Regions from separate parts of the Homo sapiens genome. Here regions 1 and 3 are each linked to region 2. Evidence: promoter capture Hi-C in human tissues and cell types (Jung and others, 2019). All regions are on one chromosome and are shown on one strand. Each heading gives the region's core, a stretch centred on a gene start or on the middle of the fragment in contact. The rest is flanking DNA. Distances are from core to core; before and after follow the strand shown.

Evidence for each region. The method cuts DNA at HindIII sites, captures the fragments that hold promoters and counts their contacts. A contact is called where the count stands out against the background at its distance.
Region 1: the fragment with the promoter of PTGIR here is called in contact with the fragment with the promoter of IRF2BP1 in region 2 in 1 of the 25 tissues and cell types used here (spleen).
Region 3: a contact is called between the fragment with the promoter of PRKD2 here and the fragment with the promoter of IRF2BP1 in region 2, in 1 of the 25 tissues and cell types used here (liver).

Annotation. Positions count from the first base shown.
Region 1 is chr19:46,623,417-46,626,841 of GRCh38, reverse strand. PTGIR (prostaglandin I2 receptor) reads left to right here and starts at 1,753. Exons shown (of 3, transcript NM_000960.4): 1 at 1,753-1,845; 2 at 2,605-3,384. The coding sequence starts at 2,617. RefSeq lists an enhancer at 1,038-1,538. The HindIII fragment of the contact is 28,599 bases long and covers 1-3,425 here.
Region 2 is chr19:45,884,821-45,887,995 of GRCh38, reverse strand. IRF2BP1 (interferon regulatory factor 2 binding protein 1) reads left to right here and starts at 1,855. Exons shown (of 1, transcript NM_015649.3): 1 at 1,855-3,175. The coding sequence starts at 2,222. RefSeq lists enhancers at 1,031-1,080, 1,141-1,380, 1,531-1,680 and silencers at 1,841-2,320, 2,361-2,600. The HindIII fragment of the contact is 12,651 bases long and covers 1-3,175 here.
Region 3 is chr19:46,715,608-46,719,043 of GRCh38, reverse strand. It overlaps PRKD2 (protein kinase D2), which reads left to right and starts at 1,930. Exons shown (of 18, transcript NM_016457.5): 1 at 1,930-2,913. The coding sequence starts at 2,674. It overlaps LOC107987269, which reads left to right. Exons shown (of 4, transcript XM_017027568.2): 1 at 1-398; 2 at 542-691; 3 at 1,068-1,245; 4 at 1,867-2,510. The coding sequence ends at 2,233. RefSeq lists an enhancer at 635-684 and silencers at 1,805-1,964, 1,985-2,034. The HindIII fragment of the contact is 22,581 bases long and covers 1-3,436 here.

The DNA.
Region 1 (3,425 bases), core at 504-3,003, 740 kb before region 2:
CATGGGAGCAGAGGGGACTTCCTGAATGTTAACCGTCCTTGTAACAGGAAGCGAGAGAGGGAGTCTCCGGGAACCAGAGGCCCCCCCGATGCCGAAACAAGATGCACGCCTGCCAGGCATCATCCTTCATTAATATGATATAACTTCCTGAGTTCCCTCTGGTCTGTCTGGGGACCTCACGGCATGAGGCGGGACAACGTGGCAGGACCTGGAGCCCACATGTACAGGCACCCCCAGAGCAGGGCTGGGGGGTCCCTTAGGGAGCCACGGTGGGGCTGGAACTTGGGCGTCCATCCTGCTGGAAGCTGCGGGTGCCAGCTGGGCAAGGGTGATAGGGAGATGGGGGGGAGGGGCAAAGGGGTTGTGGTCACACACCGGGGTACAGAGGGCAAGACGGCAGCTGCCCACAGTCCAGTCCTTGGGTTGGACACATCCCTCCTGGCCTTGGACAAGAGACACCCGCACAGCCTCTCTCCTTGTTACAAAGACCAATCTGGGATGTGCTGCAGGCCGAGGCTGGCCACCAGGTCCCTGAGGCCCGTGTTACCCCACGCACAGAGAAGGAGGCTGAAGTCTACCAGCTCCCTCTCCTCACCTGGGACCATCTCGCAGCAAGAAAAAAGGTGGTCAGATGGAAACAGGAAGCCAAGTCGAATGGATCTGAGACCGTCCCCCTGAGAAACAGCGGGGCTCAGAGAGGGTCTCTGAGGTTTTATCTGGCCCTTTTGGGCTGGGAGGCTGCCTGGGAAGCCACCGACTCCGTGGGAAGGGAGACCCGTGAACGCTGTGCGGGTAGCGGGAACATGTGGGTCTGTCACACTGGCCCGAGGCTGCAGCGGTGGTGGCTTGGCTGTGTTTGGGGAGGGTGGGGGACACATGGCAGCAATGTTGGAGCTGTGGACAGCTTCCTGTGATCAAAATATGATTCCTGAAGGTCAAGGTCACCAGAGCTTGGCCTGGGGCCTAGGGGTGCTGTGCGAGAAGTCGGACGGTGGCCCAGTGCTACCTTTCCATCATGGGCCATGGAAGTCTCCCAAGCCTGTCCCTGACAACTGGACACCAAATACACCCCTTCATGCTTTCTTCTCGGGTCTCTGCAGGGTGAGCTGGGTGCCCAGGGACAGGCTCGAGGGACTGGCATGTCTCTCTCTGGCCAAGCCTCCTTCCTCAGCTTTCTGGAAGGAGTGAATTGTGTCCAGGGACCAGAACTCTCAGTGGTGTCTGGAAAACACTACATCAGAGAGGAATTTCCTGGTCATTTCTCAATCCCTGGGCAATGTCCTCAGCCCCGGGGCCTGGAGCCCAGAATAGATCCCAGAGGCCACCCTGAGACAGCCCAGGCCAAGACCACCCCACTGAAGCCTGGTCAACTGTGCTCTTCAGGTCCCTCCTAGAGGCCCCCTACTACCCCGGGAGGCTCCAAGCCTAAGTGATGGTGACTCAGGAATTCCCCACCCAGGCCAGAGAGGGAGACACTGGGGGAGGGAGGAGACCTGTGTGTGGGGAGGTGGCAGGTGGCTCAGTGATGGGAACCAAGAGAGGATGTGGGGAGGAGAGTGGAGGCAGCGATGGGAGATGGATGTCCTGGATTGGGCGGGTGGACGGGGAGTGGGGAGTGTGCCAGGGGGCCCTCTGGAGAACAGTGAGGGAGGGCGGGGCAGAGAGAGGAAATGAAAAAGCTGGGGTGAGCAGGCAAGCTGAGGAGGGTGGGAAGGAGGGAGGGACGGAGGGAGGAGGGAAGGAGAAGCTGACACACAGACCGACACAGGCAGCGAGAGACACGAGGAGCAAAGCAAGTGAAGGCACAGACGCACGGGACAGGAGAGCCTGGGCAAGACTGGAGAGGTGCGGTGAGGGGCTGGGGATGCAGCAACACAGAGCAGGAGCAGGTAGAGGGTGTGGGGTTAGAGGGAGAAAGGTACGGGGAGGACAAGGACAAGGGAGGGGACAGAGACAGGGAGATATCAGCAAGAGACCGAGAGACAGGGAGGGAAAGAACTGGCAATGCCCGGATGTTCTCTGTCTCTTTAATGGCAGAAACAGAGCTAGAGAAGGAAAGAAACAGGAGGTGGTGGGGGGGTGGTGGGTGTCAGGCATGGTGGCTCACACCTGTAATCTCAGCACTTTGGGAAGCCAAGGTGGATGGATCACCTGAGGTCAGGAGTTCGAGACCAGCCTGACCAACATGGTGGAACCCCGTCTCTACTGAAAATACAAAAATTAGCTGGGCGTGGTAGTGGACGCCTGTAATCTCATCTACTCCAGAGGCTGGGGCAGGAGAATCGCTTGAACCCAGGAGGTGGAGGTTGCAGTGAGCCGAGATCATGCCATTGCTCTCCATCCTGGACAACAGAGTGAGACTCTGTCTCAAAAGAAACGAAAGAAAAGAAAGAGAGAAAGAGAAACAGGAAGGTGGGGAGAGACAGAGAGAGATACTGGAGAAGCCAGAGGGGAGAGGACTGCATACCCGCACACACAGGAGAACTGGGGGTTGGCTGGGAGGCCCCAGCTGCCAAAAGGACTGGCCAGCAGGGACATCTGAGTGGGCTGGGTGGTGGGGGTAGCCCTGGCTCCCTCTGACCCCCCACCTTGGGAACCCTCCAGCCCAGACCTGGGATGGCGGATTCGTGCAGGAACCTCACCTACGTGCGGGGCTCGGTGGGGCCGGCCACCAGCACCCTGATGTTCGTGGCCGGTGTGGTGGGCAACGGGCTGGCCCTGGGCATCCTGAGCGCACGGCGACCGGCGCGCCCCTCGGCCTTCGCGGTGCTGGTGACCGGACTGGCGGCCACCGACCTGCTGGGCACCAGCTTCCTGAGCCCGGCCGTGTTCGTGGCCTATGCGCGCAACAGCTCCCTGCTGGGCCTGGCCCGAGGCGGCCCCGCCCTGTGCGATGCCTTCGCCTTCGCCATGACCTTCTTCGGCCTGGCGTCCATGCTCATCCTCTTTGCCATGGCCGTGGAGCGCTGCCTGGCGCTGAGCCACCCCTACCTCTACGCGCAGCTGGACGGGCCCCGCTGCGCCCGCCTGGCGCTGCCAGCCATCTACGCCTTCTGCGTCCTCTTCTGCGCGCTGCCCCTGCTGGGCCTGGGCCAACACCAGCAGTACTGCCCCGGCAGCTGGTGCTTCCTCCGCATGCGCTGGGCCCAGCCGGGCGGCGCCGCCTTCTCGCTGGCCTACGCCGGCCTGGTGGCCCTGCTGGTGGCTGCCATCTTCCTCTGCAACGGCTCGGTCACCCTCAGCCTCTGCCGCATGTACCGCCAGCAGAAGCGCCACCAGGGCTCTCTGGGTCCACGGCCGCGCACCGGAGAGGACGAGGTGGACCACCTGATCCTGCTGGCCCTCATGACAGTGGTCATGGCCGTGTGCTCCCTGCCTCTCACGGTGAGTCCCCTCCGGAGCTGGGAGGAGTGGGGAGAGGAGGA
Region 2 (3,175 bases), core at 606-3,105:
AAAACAACTTCCATTTGTGGCACTTATTTTCTGTGCCAGGCACCAAGCTAAGCATTTATATGCATGTTTGCATTCAATCTGAAGGTACCCAAATAAAAGGAGACTGGAGGGGGTCTCCATTTTTTCCAAGAAGTTTAGAAACTGGCCCAAGGCCACAGCTGGTCAGAGGCCAATCCAGTCCACCTGAAGGCTGAATCTGGCCAGAAGCCTTAACTCCCATTAGTGTTTCGTAAATAATAGCCCAAAGGCAACTTTAAGTGACATATTAATGTCCTCTTGAATGAGTCGATAGTTTTCACTAATTTTTTTTAAGGTAACCACAGTACATGAAACCCATGATTGTGAACGTATTACCTAGGATGAGGCAAAAATAGATAAATCTTTTTATTTTTATTTATTTTTTTGAGACAGGATCTTGCTCTGTTGCCCAGGCTGGAGTGCAGTGACGCAATCATGGTTCACTGTAGCCTGTTATCTCCAGGCTCAAGCAATCCTCCCACTTCAGCCTGATAAATCTTTTTTTTAAGGGAGAAAAGTGTTCAAATACAGGTAGTAGACAAAATTGTGAAACCATTTTAAAATTGTGAGGTCTGGGTAACAGAATCAGAGCTGCTGCGGTTCCAGTGGGACGGGAGGAGAAGGGACAAGCAGCCCCTCACTAGACAAAACCAGGGCCAACTGGTACGTCATTCAAATATTTTTGAGCACCTAACACGGACCCAGGCCTAGAGAAAGGGGCTGTTGTGGGTTGGAACCTGGAGACCCGCCTCCGCCCTTCCCCAAAGACAGCCTCGTCCAGTTCCCAATGCCTGGGAAAGAAGAAGGGTCCTCACAGCCTGATTGGGCCTTCCAGGTAGTGAGCGCTCAAGGTTGGGGAAAGGTTGGTCTGGTGTTTGCCCTTCCCCAGCAACTCCCTCCTCTTGCCCGTCACTTCTTAACCCCTTACTCTTCCCTCAAACTGGGGAGCAACAGAAGATAAGGGTCCCCCAAACGCCACGCTCCGAATGCACGTAAAGAGCCCCCAGAAAAGTGGGGGGGCGGGGGGTAGCCGGGAAAGTAGCGTGAATCTGGAAGGCCTCCCCAAACCTCCCAGAGGGCGGAAGTGCGTCACTATGTCCGACCCGCAGTGCATTTTGGGAATTGTAGTGAAGCGGGTGGGGGACGCCGAGCCCCCGATGGTGTAACCCTTTAGAGACCAGAGCGCGCGGGCAGAGCTGGGACAGGGTTAGAGGGCGGCCAGTCGCCCCACTCTTTTAGCAGAGAAACAACTGAGACAAGGCTCTGGCTCGGAAGCCCTTAGTCCTCTCCCTTCTCTGGCTGTGGCGGGCCCCAGAAGCATATATCTAGGATTCCGGGGGGAGGACGAAGTGCCAGGTGGCCACCCCCACCCCCACCTAGTTGCCAGCTTCCCGTCCCTGCTCTGAAGCCAATCAGGGCTTCTCCGCCCCGCCCCAGAAGCTGCTACTTTCCTAATCCGTCATTGGCCCACCTTTGCTGGGCGGGGAAACTGAGGTTCAGAGAGGGCAAGACATTTTGCCTAAAGCTGCACAGCAAATCCGAGCAGAAGTTGGAAGCCCGGAAGCCTGTCCACCCACCCCCACAATTTCTGAATCCGGAGTAGCTCTGATCATTTGTATTGCATCCTCGCCTACCACCTTTGTGTCCCAGCATCTTGCGGCGCGCTGAACTCCGGCCCCACGGAGAAGGTTGTAAGGTTTGCGCCGGCAGAGGCGACAACCCCCCCAGCCCGCGTCTGCCCGCCGTTCCCTTTAAGAGCCGGCCCCGGCGGGACTACGTTTCCCAGAAGGCTTTGCAGGCGTGTTATGTAACTTTCCCTGCGAAGCGGCCTCTGGGGCAGAAGAAGGAGGTGGAGGCGGCGGCGGCCGTTGCAGCGGCGGCGGCGAGAGCGGCGGGAGCCCGAGGCGGCGGCGCTCGCGGCCCATCGTGGGGCCCGAGCTGTGCGCCTCGGCTCGGAGCCCGGACCGGGCGGGGGCGCCGACGTGCCTCAGCCTGCCTTCGCGAGGGAGGCGGGAGTGAGCAGAAAGGCTTAGGGCCCAGGGGGCGGGGAAGGGGGGCCGGGCCTGGATCCGGCGGGGAGGCCGAGCCGGAGGCCGGACCGTGGCTCGCGCTGTCCCCGGGACGCGGATCGAACGTTGGCGGCGCGGATCGCACGTCGGCGGCCGGTGGAACGCGGGAGCTGGGCGGCGCGCGGACTGGGGCCATGGCGTCTGTGCAGGCGTCCCGCCGCCAGTGGTGCTACCTGTGCGACCTGCCCAAGATGCCGTGGGCCATGGTGTGGGACTTCAGCGAGGCCGTGTGTCGCGGCTGCGTGAACTTCGAGGGCGCGGACCGCATCGAACTGCTCATCGATGCCGCCCGCCAGCTCAAGCGCAGCCACGTGCTCCCCGAGGGCCGCTCGCCCGGGCCCCCGGCCCTTAAGCACCCGGCCACCAAGGACCTGGCGGCGGCAGCCGCACAGGGGCCCCAGCTGCCGCCCCCGCAGGCCCAGCCCCAGCCGTCAGGGACCGGCGGCGGCGTGTCGGGCCAGGACCGCTATGACAGGGCCACATCATCAGGCCGCCTCCCCCTGCCCTCGCCCGCCCTGGAGTACACTCTGGGGTCCCGCCTGGCCAATGGGCTGGGCCGTGAGGAGGCCGTGGCTGAGGGGGCGCGAAGGGCCTTGCTTGGCTCCATGCCTGGCTTGATGCCCCCTGGGCTGCTGGCAGCTGCAGTGTCTGGCCTGGGAAGCCGAGGCCTGACGCTGGCACCCGGCTTGAGTCCTGCCCGTCCCCTCTTCGGCTCCGATTTCGAGAAAGAGAAGCAGCAGAGGAATGCGGACTGTCTGGCAGAACTGAACGAGGCCATGCGAGGCCGGGCAGAGGAATGGCACGGGCGCCCCAAAGCAGTGCGGGAACAGCTACTGGCGCTGTCCGCCTGCGCCCCGTTCAATGTGCGCTTCAAGAAGGATCACGGGCTGGTGGGGCGAGTGTTCGCCTTCGATGCTACTGCCCGTCCTCCAGGATACGAGTTCGAGCTGAAGCTCTTCACCGAATACCCCTGTGGTTCCGGCAATGTGTACGCCGGCGTCCTGGCAGTGGCTCGCCAGATGTTCCACGATGCTCTGCGGGAGCCGGGCAAGGCACTGGCTTCTTCGGGCTTCAAGTACCTCGAATAT
Region 3 (3,436 bases), core at 681-3,180, 830 kb before region 2:
AGGTGCCCGAGCCCTCGTGGCTCATGTCCTGATGCGTCCCTCCTTTCCCTTCTCAGTGGTCCACGTCTACTGTACTGAGTGCTTTACATGGCATTTCACTGGGTCCACAGCCTTAAAAAGAGGGAGCAGGTGTCCACATGCTCCAGATGAGACGGAGGGGACCGCTGCTCCTGTCTCGAGGAGGCTTCCACCACCTACCAGCCAGGCGTCCTCGGTAATCCTAGCACCTCTGCCACAGGGCACTAATGCCCAGTTCCTGGGTTGTAAAGGGCTGTGCCCCAGTCCCCCAGCAGGCCCCAGTGAACATACGAGAAAGGATGGAGGCCGCTGTCTGGACACTCAGGACATGGCAGCGTTTTGCTGGGACAGTCATCTGCCCTTCAGGAAAAAGGGTGCAGGTGGGCAGGAGGCCCTTAGATGACGCCAAGGGGAGCCTTCGTGGGCTCCACGTGGTGTGCTCCCTGCCCATCCCTCTGGGCTCAATGCAGTTCCCCAGGTGGTGGTTTGGGTTTTCACTCCAGCCTCAGACTTCCTTCCTCAGCCCCAGCCCCCGGATGTGGTGACAGAATCGATACTGTACCGACCTCAGCTACCCCCAACGGCCGTACACCAGGAAGAGGGGCTCTTCTGGCAGCCCCCATCCTCAGCCAGCCCTGCCATTTCCAGTCCTGCCAGCATCCCAGCCAGACAGGTGGCCCTTCTCTTAGAGCTCAAACCTAGGCCTTGACTTGTCAATCAAAGGGGTGGGTGGGGCAGCTTCCCTCAAGCAACTTCACTCTGGGATCTTGGGCAAGACGTTTTGCTTCTCTGAGGCTTCAGCTTATTCTGTGTAAACTAAATGGTAGCCACTATTTGATTATTAGCTGGGGAGGAGAGATCAAGCCTGACCCCTGTAGCGGCTGGAGTTTTACAGCAGGGCCCACCCAGCACCCAGTAGGTCCTCACAGATACTTGCTGGGTGACTGAATGGGTGTGCCCACCCATCAAAGCCTGAGTGCTGGAGGTGGCCACCCCTTTCCGCGTATTATCAGAGACAACCACCTCTTACTGAACTGCTGCGTTTCCAGGCACCAGTATACCATGGCATCGGCTCCCACCATCCCATGTGGGGTCAGTCCTATTACAGTCCCAACAGATGGAGGGACTGAGGCTCACAGAGAAGCCACTCACCCAAAGTCACATGGAGAGAAAGACACGCACACGTACTCCACATCCCCAGGAGACACACTCTGCATCTATGAAGTGGTATGGGTGTGCTGTCCTCCCTCGGGGCAGCCCCACACTATCCTAAGGCGGGGTTGGGGTGGGCGGGGGGATGGACCCTCCCCACCCATCCAGTTAGCGCCATGCACCTTGCCCACCATCGCTGGAGACAGACCTAAGGCGAGCCCCTTCCTACCCATCTGGAGGCCTCGGTCTTTCCATGTGTTAAATGGGCTGGGGCCGGGGGACGCTCTGCAGCACCCCCTTCCCTGGGCTGGGACGCGGCGGGGAGGGCAGGGGTGACGCTCGGAGAACAGAGAGGCCGAACCCAGAGAGCGGGCCGGGACCTGATACCGATTTCCCACCCGTCCCCTGCCATGGGCGCCGGACGCCTGCCGGAGAGGGCTCCCCTCCTTAAAGGGCCAGTGGCCTCCAAGCCCGACGCCTGCGACCGGCGGTGGGTGATAGTGTTTCCCCTCCCTGTCCAGCCGAGGGAAAAGTTAACTTTCCAGGCTTGGCTGTGTTCAGGGAAGGAACTGGTCTCGCCTGCCTGCCCTCCATCCCTCACACCATCCCTTGTCCCGGACCCTGGAGGCGGAGGTCCAGCCCCCAACTCGGAGGCCCCGGGCCCACCCTCCCCTTCCGCCCCCGGCCCCTCGGCAGGCTCCGCCCCTCTCTGACGTCGCCGAGGCCCGCGCCGATTGGTCGACTGCACTGTCGCTCCGGACACTTCCTCCTGGGCCGCCGCCGCCGCCGCCGACTTAAACTTTGGAGGGGGAAAAAGAGCTACTGGCGCCTGGCGACCCTCCCTGCCCCCCACCCAACCCCGCTCCGGCAACGCCCCCTTCCTCACGGCTCCCGACCGAACTTTTCTCCAACTTCTGCGACTCGTGAGATTCCCTTCTACCCACTCCGGCCCTCGGGACCCCTCTGCCCATCCCCTGGCCGGTCGGGTCCCTGCGAACCCCTTTATCTCTGGAATCCACTCGGTCCCCGACTCAGAGACTCCTGCCCTCCACCCCCAAGGTGAATTCCCCCGGGCCGCCTTCTGAGTGGGATCCTCTTCTTGGAGCACTGGATCCTGGGATTCCCTCTGCCCCCTTCTCAATCCCTCCTCTAGGGAAGGGGCCTTTGAATCGCGGGCTCTCCTGATCCCTGTGACCCCGACCTACTAGATTTCCTCTCAGGCTTCTTGGAATCTCAATCGCTGGGACCTCCAACCCACTACTTTTCTCCTTTCTGATCTTCTGGGAGCCCTGGATTCCGGGCCTCTGACCCACTATAGTGCCTTTCTCTCCTTCCCAGGACCCCGCCATCCTCAGGTCCCCTCCGCCTGCCAGATCTTTTCTCGGATCCCCGCTCTCCCACCACCTGCTCACGAGATCCCGCGGATCTAGAACCCAGGGTCCCCCGGGGCCCCCCGGCCGGGTCCCGGGTGGGCTCCAGGCGGCCGGTCCCCGGCCTCCCCCCATGGCCACCGCCCCCTCTTATCCCGCCGGGCTCCCTGGCTCTCCCGGGCCGGGGTCTCCTCCGCCCCCCGGCGGCCTAGAGCTGCAGTCGCCGCCACCGCTACTGCCCCAGATCCCGGCCCCGGGTTCCGGGGTCTCCTTTCACATCCAGATCGGGCTGACCCGCGAGTTCGTGCTGTTGCCCGCCGCCTCCGAGCTGGCTCATGTGAAGCAGCTGGCCTGTTCCATCGTGGACCAGAAGGTGAGGGCGCAGGCTCCCTGGATCCAGCTCGGGGAGAGGTTGAAGGAGGGGGCGCTGGCAGAGGGGTCTGGGGCCTGGTGTGCGGAAGAGGGAGGAAGGAGACCTGAGCTTTGGGTGATGGAGGGATAGGGGGCATTGCCCCCCTCCATTGCCCCTCTCCCCACCATCCCTTTGAGAGAGGACTGGGCAGGGGTGGGGTGCCCCAGAGGCCTCCCCAAATTTCATGTCCCTGCATGTCGTTGTTTTCTGCAGCAAACAGGGAGGAAGGGAGGGGCCAGCCAGGTGTAGAGAGGGGAGGAAGGGGCAGCAGATGTCGGCGGACCTCCACGTCCAGGCCCATCCCGGGCCTCCCATTTGGTGGAAACAGGAGAAATTGAACCCGGGCTGGCCATGGTGATCCGGTGACATGTGTGGGTGCAGGTGCTTGAGTTAGCTGCCAGGGGCAAGTGAGGTCTCGGAGCCCAATTCTGCCCTCCCCTAAGCCTGAGATATGTGTGGAGGGGCAGGCACTCCTACAGACCCT